3 separate regions of the Homo sapiens genome follow, and regions 1 and 2 are each linked to region 3. The links are contacts of gene promoters, found by promoter capture Hi-C in blood cells and fetal thymus (Javierre and others, 2016). All regions are on one chromosome and are shown on one strand. The core of a region is centred on a gene start or on the middle of the fragment in contact, and the rest is flanking DNA. Distances in the headings are between cores, read along the strand shown. Region 1 overlaps EML1 (EMAP like 1). Region 2 overlaps EML1 (EMAP like 1). Region 3 holds the start of HHIPL1 (HHIP like 1).

Region 1 (2,873 bases), core at 67-2,566, 270 kb after region 3:
TTGCCGGTGCCCTAATGATCTGTGCAATCCCATTGCACAGAGGAAATAGCCCTTCTGTAAACCAACACATCATCCTTTCATCCCCCATAGAGTTACTGGCATGTCCCAGGTGCTAGGTTCAAGTTTTGGCTCCCTTCCCTTCATTTTCACGGAAGGGGTGCTGGTCACTGGTGGCCAGCTGAGCCGTGAGGTGGAAGGGCCCAAGGGGCAGGCACTGCCACTCAGAGAGCAGGTGTGGCCCGTGATGGCAGGAAAGGGCTAAAGGGAACAGTGTTATATGTTCTACCTATGCCCTGGTGGTCCAGGAGGGCTGAAGGCAATGACAGCTCCTTTACCAGGCTGTTAATCATTTAGCCTAACATAAGGGTTGGAGCTCTAAGCTGGAAGCCAGGGAACTGCAATGAAGTTCTAGCTCCTCTGCCTACTGGCCTTGTGACCTTGGACATCTGTAACTCAGTGTCCACTTCTCAAAATTGTTACGAGGCTTAGATGAATGACACAGACAGAAGTGCTTTGTAAATGGTAAAGCTTCAAGTGAACACGATTTCTGTTTGTGTATTAGTGGCAGCTCTGAGCTTAATTACAGCTCCCACTGTAGAAAGAAAGCATTGAAATAATGTAATCATATATCAAGTTTCTTTCTCTTGGTTTTTTAGATTATCCAGTGGATCTCAGGGCCTCCTATTTTCATTCCCATTGCTACTTTTCTTCCTGATCTTCCTTAATCTCTTCTCTCTTCATCCTAAACACTCCTGCAAAGTGCCCTTTATCTAAAACACATGTTCAATCATGTCACTCTTTTTATTGAAAGGACAAGACCATTCAAAGTGTTCTTATTTCCTAGTGATCAAAGTCCTTACCATGGCAGTGACATCACTAATGTGATATACTCTGTGCTGTAAGCCCATTGACCTATCTGCCACTCCTCAAATATGCCCACAGCTGTGTTGCTTCCATCACTTTTACTATATTACTGCCCCCTTCACCATGGTCCAAAAAACGACTGGAGTGGCCACATCTCACCTTCACCAGTGATAATTCTTCCTCTCCTGGGAGGCCCAAGTCCAGTCGTCTGTACCGCGAAGCCTTGGCCCAGCTTCCCAGTGTCACCTCATCCCTCCCTCCCCTGTGTATCTCTTTCATGGATCTCTTTCATGGATCATTCCATCTTGTATCCGAGTTAGTGATGACTGTGTGTGTGTTCCACTGGATCAAAACCTAGAACATGCCTTGCTCATCTCATGATCCTTCCAGGCCTCCATAGTGTTTTGCACCCAGTGGGCACTCACCCAGTCTCCGTGTCATGGAGTTGGGTGCCGTGGTTGTCTTTCTGGAGCAATCAAGCACACTATTCAGTGAGCTTACCACTCAGCACGGGGAGTCAACTGAAGGGGCTGGGTTCTATAAGCTGTGACTTTGTAGAAGGGCATTTACCTGTCTTTCATCAGATTACTGTAGAAATGAGAGGATGTAAGACAAAAAGGGAAAAATCCTAAAAGGACAGAAATTTAAGTCAGGCTCAATGGCTTACACCTATAATCCCAGCACTTTGGGAGGCAGAGACAGGAGGATCACTTGAGCCCAGGAATTCGAGACCAGCCTGGGCAGCATAGGGAGACTCCATCTCTACAAAATTAAAAATTAAAAAATTAGCCAGGTGTGGTGACACACACCTGTAGTCCCAGCTGCTTCAGAGGCTGAGCCAGGAGTGTCACTTGTGCTGCAATAAGTCATGATCATGCCATTGTACTCCAGCCTGTGCAATAGAGTGAGATCCTGCCTCAAAAAAGGGTGGGGGTAGGTAGAAATTTAGCATTATTGAAACGCAGCATTCATTCAAGCAGGAAAACATTTTTCTCTAGAAAAGAGACTTTTCAAATAGAGCCATATAGCCCTAAGGAATTAGAAGTGTGAGCGTTTGTGTGTGCACGCACTCACGTGTGTGTGTTTTATGCTATAGTGTTCTATCTGTTCATCAATTTACACTTCCTTTAAAATATTTTAGGATCCAGCTCAGTCTTCTGGTTTTCATCCTTCAGGGTCTGTGGTTGCAGTCGGAACACTCACTGGGAGGTAAGTCCATGCCAACAGCGCTTGTGCTTGCAAAGCTTATGGAAAAGAGGCCTGTTGTTTCTATTTCCCCAGGAACAGGCCCCCGTTCAGCTCTTGGCTACATGTTCGAAGCTTCTAATGACTTACCAAGAATTAAGTTAAAAGCGAAACTTGAAACAGTGGCCCATTACATTTTGAGCCTTGGGGAATCTGAGGAAAGCCATAGACCCTCTCTCCTGGAAAAGGACCCTCTACCTCCACTAGACACACACACACTTTTTTTGTTTGTTTTTTGAGACAGGTCTCTCCTTGTCACCCAGACTGAAGTGCAGTGGCACAATCACAGCTTACTGCAGCCTCCAGGGCTTAAGTGATCCTCCCACCTCAGCCTCCCAAGTAGCTGGGACTACAGGCATGCACTGCCATGCTCAACTAATATTTTATCTTTTGTAGAGACGCAGGTCTCACTGTGTTGCCCAGGCTGGTCTTGAGCTCTAGCTCAAGCAGTCCTCCCACCTCGGTCTCCCAAAGTGCTGAGATCACAGGCATGAGGCACCACACCCAGCCACACACACATTTTGCCTACAATCTCGAGGATTTGTGGAGCTTCTCAAGCCCTGATCTTGAGGCTGTGGGAGAAGCCTTGATTTTGGAATGAAGCAAGAAAACATTTCAAAGTGCTGAGCATTTAAAAATGCTTTTTCTACTCCTGGTCACAGTGGCTCACACTTGTAATCCCAACCCTTTGAGAGGCCTAGGCAGGAAGATCGTTTGAGGCTAGGAGTTCGAGACCAGCCTGGGCAACACAGCAAGACCCTATC
Region 2 (2,700 bases), core at 144-2,643, 290 kb after region 3:
TGGGGTAGGGCCTGGGCTTGCCTGGCCGTGGCCCACTGAGAAGAACCAGAGAGATGGGTTTTTAACCCTTCTCCACTGTACAGGGCAGCAGGTCCTAAGATAATTCCCTGGAACCCTCTCCTATCAGGTTGTGCCACATGGACCTAGGTGGACCAGATGGCACTCAGTCAACTTACCATTTGTGAGGGTTATTATTTATATATTTTTTGTTCTTAAACTAAAAATTTCACTTTCTTCAACATTCACTTTAGGAATATTTTCATAAGTGAACTAAATTAAAGGGCTGCAAATTAATAGAATTTTTAAAGATAGTGTTTATTGTCTCTTTACGTAAGACTACAAGTCTTGTGAGAATTTGCAGTTTTGTGGTGTTCAGTGCTGAGGTCCGGAGGTTCACTCCAGAGCTCCCAGTCGAAAACCCAACGTGCATCCAGCCCTCTCCTAGCCACAGGTATTGTTGAAAGGGTTTCCCCGACAATGGTCAGAAGAGGGCGTCCCCCACCCACCCATTCTCCAGGCCCACCTGGGCTCACCCGACAATGGTCAGAAGAGGGTGTCCCCCACCCACCCATTCTCCAGGCCCACCTGGGCTCAGGGATGCAGAGCCTGGAGCCAGTAATGATGGGCACAGCTGCCAGGCTGCCCCAAGCAAGCAACAGCCACAGTGAGTGACCCCAAGAAACATGCGCACACCCAGGGTTAAAAGGCCTTTGGAGAGACCCACCCATGTAGAGTTACAGCAATAACAAGGAAACTGCAGGCTTGAGGACAGGGCAGCTTCCCACAAGATGCTTCAGAGATCAAGGAGAGGTGTCACTTTGGAACTGGGGTTCCTGGTACTGTCTGCCTTGGCCTCAAGATGAGGCCTCAAAAGACCTGGCAGCCCGGAAAGCTTGTCTTTGCTCCCCTTGCACAGCAGAGCATCAGAGGGTCTCCGAGACTGGCCTGAGTGAGAGGAGACTGGGCGCACAGCGAGAGGCCAGGAACTGAGGCTATTGTGCTTTTTTGACCCTTGTTTCTAAAGCTGGACTTCAGGCAGTTTCATGTTCAGGACCGTTCAGTGGGCGCTTCCTGCGCCATGTGGCCCTGTGGCCCCTGGTGTTTCCAGCGCCCTGTTTGTGGTCTTTGTTTTAGGAGTGTGGCCAGAAGGCTCGGACGGAACCGACATCAATGCCGTCTGTCGGGCCCATGAGAAGAAACTCCTGTCAACAGGCGACGACTTTGGCAAAGTGCACCTCTTCTCATACCCCTGCTCGCAGTTCAGGGTAAAGGACTTGTTTCTTCACTAATCTTATCCCCCATGGGGCATGCACGTACACCCGACCTGTTTGGAGACTAAGTGGAAATGGGCTGTGAGCGACTGCTGCCAGCCACAAAGGCAGATGTGACTCTGTTCTTTGCGCCCTGAGCACTTCCAGCCGCCCTTAGGGAAACCCCAAGCCCCACAGGACCCACAAAGCCGTTCAGAGCTGCTCATCCACCTCTGCAGCCCCACAGGCTCACGACCCCGCCCTCCCCCACGGCTCCCTTGCTCCGGCCCTGCTCAGCCGCGCCAGCCCTGAGCCCTGGGACGCCCTTCTTCATCCTCCGTGATCCTGACCCTGGAGACCCCTCACCCTCAGCCCCGGGCATCTGGTTAGGCCCACCTTTGGGGCGACCTCATACCTGGCACCTCTGATACTGAGCATATCTCTCGGCTGAGGGCGGTCATTTGCTCGTGTCTGTCCCCTACCAGGCCACGAGGACTGTGGGCTTTGTTTCTGTGTCCCTTCTGTGTCACACACAGAGCAGGTTCCCAAGTGAGAGCTGCCGAGCGGAGGGCGAGTAAAGGAATTAAGGCATGCAGTGAGAATTCAAGCACTTTCCCATCCCAGATGGTTCGCCTTGTAGTAAAGGAAGCTTTCCCCCGTATCATTCCCTCCAGGCTCCAAGCCACATCTACGGCGGGCACAGCAGCCATGTCACCAATGTCGATTTCCTCTGTGAAGACAGCCACCTCATCTCCACGGGCGGGAAAGACACAAGCATCATGCAGTGGCGCGTCATTTAGTACCCACCGAGAGCTGTGGGGAGCAGCATGGGCAAGGAAGACACAGACTCGCATTACCCTTGGTCACTGTGATTTCTGTTTTGTTTAAAAAATTCTTACAAACCTCAGGAAAACTGTGCCCTCCGCCGGCTACCTTAGCTTAGCGTGTCAGCGGGCGCCACAGCGGATCAGCGGTTCCGTGTTCACTTTTGTTGTACAATATATGACACAGTGCACATTGAATACCAACAAGGTTGCAACGTTTACATTATAGCCACATCAACAGAAGTAACTGGTATATTCTTAGTAACTTTTCTATGAACTCTTCAAAAATGGTCACAGAATGCCTTTTAAAACATTGTATATAATCTTCACTGTTTCACCATCTAGCTTGCTAAGTCAAATATTTATGATGATAATGAGGTACTGAACCACGATGGCTGTTGAGGAATTGGTCCTAAAAGGACAGATCACTTCAGAAGAGTGAATAACTGATTTGCACAGCTGAATCAGGAGACACAAAGATGAGACTGTGTTTGGTTACATTTTCCAAAGTTTCATTGCATTCTCCCTTGGGGAGGCTGTGAGAGAGGGCTTGTATCCCTCTTGTGCTAAGCAGACTCTACTCCTAACTGACTTCAATATTTCAGCAGGGTACACAGGCGTTTCCA
Region 3 (3,010 bases), core at 273-2,772:
CCCAGCTGGGAAGTAGGCGCCATCGTGCCCTCCGATTCCATCCTGGCTCTGCCTATTCCCAGCTGTCTGTGCAGGAAGCCGTTGCAGGCCGCATTTCCCACCCTAGCAGCCCTCTGCTAGGTTCAGCCAATGAAAGCCACAGGTGGGAGTTGGAGGGGAAGTGGCAGGGAGAAGCCGGGGTATTTCTCCTCCTCTGTCTGTGCAGAATCTCTGACAGTGGCTATCTCCAGCTGTGGCCAGACAGGCCTTGTGAGGGTCCAGCTTTGACAAGGTGACCATAGCTCCTTGGCTCCAGTAACATCTGCTCTTCCTGCATCAAGGACCTGGGGACTGTTCCTACTGTTGCTGATCTCAAGGTTACTTCACTGAGCCCTGTATGGCTTCTTAGCCTCTTTGGCTTCAAGTCCCTGCGTTAAATTCCCCGTGTTTCAAATACTCAGAGATGTTTGGCTGTGCGGAGACCCTGACTCTTACACTGCACCTGTTCAGGCCAGAGCCACAGACCTCTGAGTGCTCCAGCCCTGCCGCATCTCATCCACCCCCAGCTCTGCCAGGAGCATGGGCCCAAAGACAGAAACATGATCCCCCAGGACAGTCCAAAGAGACCTGCAGAGGACGGATGTGTGCGTTGGGGCCATGAAGATGGAGTAGGAGCTCACTGGACAGAGAAGATGGGGAAGGACACTCCAGGGAGAAGCAAACGCTGAGGTCCACTTGAGAAAAATGCCTGGGTGGTTTTGGTGCTGTGAGATTCTAGGGTAGGTGAGACAGTGTGTGTGTGTTTGTCTGTGTGGGTGGTTTTGGTGCCATGAGATTCTGGGGTAGGTAAGACAGCGTGTGTGCGTCTGTATGTGTGTGGGGGGGTGGGGCGGGGTTGGGTCTGAATCTCCAGCGGGGGCAGCGGAACAAAGGGCTGGATGCCCATCCCAGGAGGTAGATTCATCAGTGCTCCCTATGCGAGAGTGGAAGTGGGGAGCCCCAGTGGGTCCTGGGCTGCAGGAGAATCCGCTGCCCCAGGAGCAGAGACTGGGAAGAAGCCCACAGTAAGGGCAAAGGGTGGACTGCGGAGACTGCTCCGTCCTCCCTCCCCACCCCTACGCCAGGTTTCACTTCTCCCTGAGAGTCCTGGGGCAACACCCCCTGTTCTTTCCCTCGCACCCCCATTTTTAAAATGTTACGTGGGAGCTTTCGGGGACGGGCTGCGGGCATCCGTTTCCCTAGCCCAGTGGGAGGTGGAACCGAAGCCCAGGAGTCCAGGCCTCTGGCCCTGCGCCTCCCTGGCTAAAGAGCGCCCTGTGGGGAGGAAGCAGGGCCCCAGGCGGAACCGGGAAAACACACCGGGGCTTTAAACAGACCGGGCCACTCCCATCGAATTTGGAAAGCGGTTAAAAGAGGTCGTGCCGCATTCTGCGCCGCGTCCCTCTTCCTTCAGTCCCGCCGAGTGTCCCCGACCAGAGGTGACCTCCTAGAAGGGGAGGTCCCCAAACTCGAGGCCCTGCGTGTAGGGAAGGGGAGCGCCCGCCCCTTCCCTGCCGCCGCGAGCGCCCCGGGAGGGGACCGGGGCTGCCGTCCCTCCGCCTCTTCCCCCGCGGGGCGTAGCGATGGCCCGGGCCAGGGCCGGGGCGCTGCTGGCGCTTTGGGTGCTCGGGGCCGCCGCGCATCCGCAGTGCCTGGACTTCAGGCCGCCCTTCCGGCCGACGCAGCCGCTGCGCCTCTGCGCGCAGTACTCGGACTTCGGCTGCTGCGATGAGGGGCGCGACGCCGAGCTGACCCGCCGCTTCTGGGCCCTGGCGAGCCGCGTGGACGCCGCCGAGTGGGCCGCGTGCGCCGGCTACGCGAGGGACCTGCTGTGCCAGGTGAGCGGGCGCGCGGCCACCGGGCGGGGCGGGGCGCGGGAGGCCGAGTCCTGGAGCAGAGATCGGAACCCCGCGGGGGCGAGGGCCAAGAGTGGGCGGCGGACTCGGGAACTCTAAGCCCCAACAGGGAGTCATTTGGCACGGGGCGGGGAGACCGCGCATCCCAGGACGACTCTTGGCTTTGCCATTCATTAGTTTTGTGACTTGGGCCTTCTCGGGGCCTCAGTTTCCCCTCCTGAAGCAGGAAGGACGGACGGACGGACAGATGATGTCATCATTTCCTCAGAGGTTGGGGGCTCTTCTGCCCCAGTCCCCTGGAGTCGACCCCTCAGCGTCCCACCCCGAGCAGCTGCACCCTTGTCGGGGTACCAAGGTGGAGAGGCATCTGTCCCGGTCAGTGCTCCTTTGTGTTGTCCCCGGGGCAGTGAAAGCAGGGGGCCCTGGCGTGGGCGTGGTCAACGTGTGGCCCGGGTTTGTTGAGGGGGTTGGGGCCACTGTCCCCCACGAGCGTCTCACCCCCATCCTGATGCCCTTGCCACTTCCGCCACCACCTCTGTGGGTGCTGTGCCCTCTCCTGGGGATGGCGCCCTGGCCTGCAGAAGCTCTCTCAAGACTGAGCGACAGCTCTTTGTTGAAGCCCCTGGGCCCCCCATCTTCCCTCTGAGGGTGGAGCCCCTGCTTCTGTGCACACCTGGTGGTGCCACCGCTATTTGTTTTCCTCTTGTGGGAGTCTGAGGCCCCAGGGCCTGACCACACCCAAGTGGGCAAATGTTGCCTGGCTGAATGCAGAAATGGAGCAGGACGGGCAGCCCCAAGGCATTCCTGCCTCAGCATCTGGGCAGTGAGAGGCCTGGGGTGGAGAGGCCCCAGGGGCCAGGGCCGTGTCCCAGCCTTCGGCCAGCAGGGGCAGGTGGTGTGGGGAAGGGCAAGAAGGCTGACTTGGAGTTGGAGTTTGATCCTGGCTCTGTCACTTCCCCAGCTTCGTGACCTGGGCAGGTCACTGCTGCACCTCACAATATCTTTAAAATGAAGCTGAGTATGGTGGCTTATGCCTGTAATCCCAGCACTTTGGGAGGCCAAGGTGGGCAGATCACTTGAGGTCAGGAGTTCGAGACCAGCCTGGCCAACATGGCGAAACTCCATCTCTACAAAAA

The links. The method cuts DNA at HindIII sites, captures the fragments that hold promoters and counts their contacts. A CHiCAGO score of 5 or more calls a contact.
Region 1: a fragment that was not itself captured here is called in contact with the fragment with the promoter of HHIPL1 in region 3 in 1 of 17 cell types (endothelial precursors); the score reaches 8.5 in endothelial precursors.
Region 2: a contact is called between a fragment that was not itself captured here and the fragment with the promoter of HHIPL1 in region 3, in 2 of 17 cell types (endothelial precursors and erythroblasts). The highest score is 6.0, in endothelial precursors.

The regions. Positions count from the first base shown.
Region 1 is chr14:99,915,777-99,918,649 of GRCh38, forward strand. It overlaps EML1 (EMAP like 1), which reads left to right. Exons shown (of 22, transcript NM_004434.3): 16 at 2,006-2,073. Among named protein-coding and RNA genes, the nearest start is that of EML1, 120 kb to the left of the region's middle. The HindIII fragment of the contact is 1,580 bases long and covers 527-2,106 here.
Region 2 is chr14:99,938,063-99,940,762 of GRCh38, forward strand. EML1 (EMAP like 1) reads left to right here. Exons shown (of 22, transcript NM_004434.3): 21 at 1,135-1,265; 22 at 1,925-2,700. The coding sequence ends at 2,050. Among named protein-coding and RNA genes, the nearest start is that of EVL, 130 kb to the right of the region's middle. RefSeq lists an enhancer at 996-2,195. The HindIII fragment of the contact is 1,007 bases long and covers 891-1,897 here.
Region 3 is chr14:99,643,607-99,646,616 of GRCh38, forward strand. It overlaps HHIPL1 (HHIP like 1), which reads left to right and starts at 1,523. Exons shown (of 9, transcript NM_001127258.3): 1 at 1,523-1,856. The coding sequence starts at 1,602. The HindIII fragment of the contact is 13,444 bases long and covers 1-3,010 here.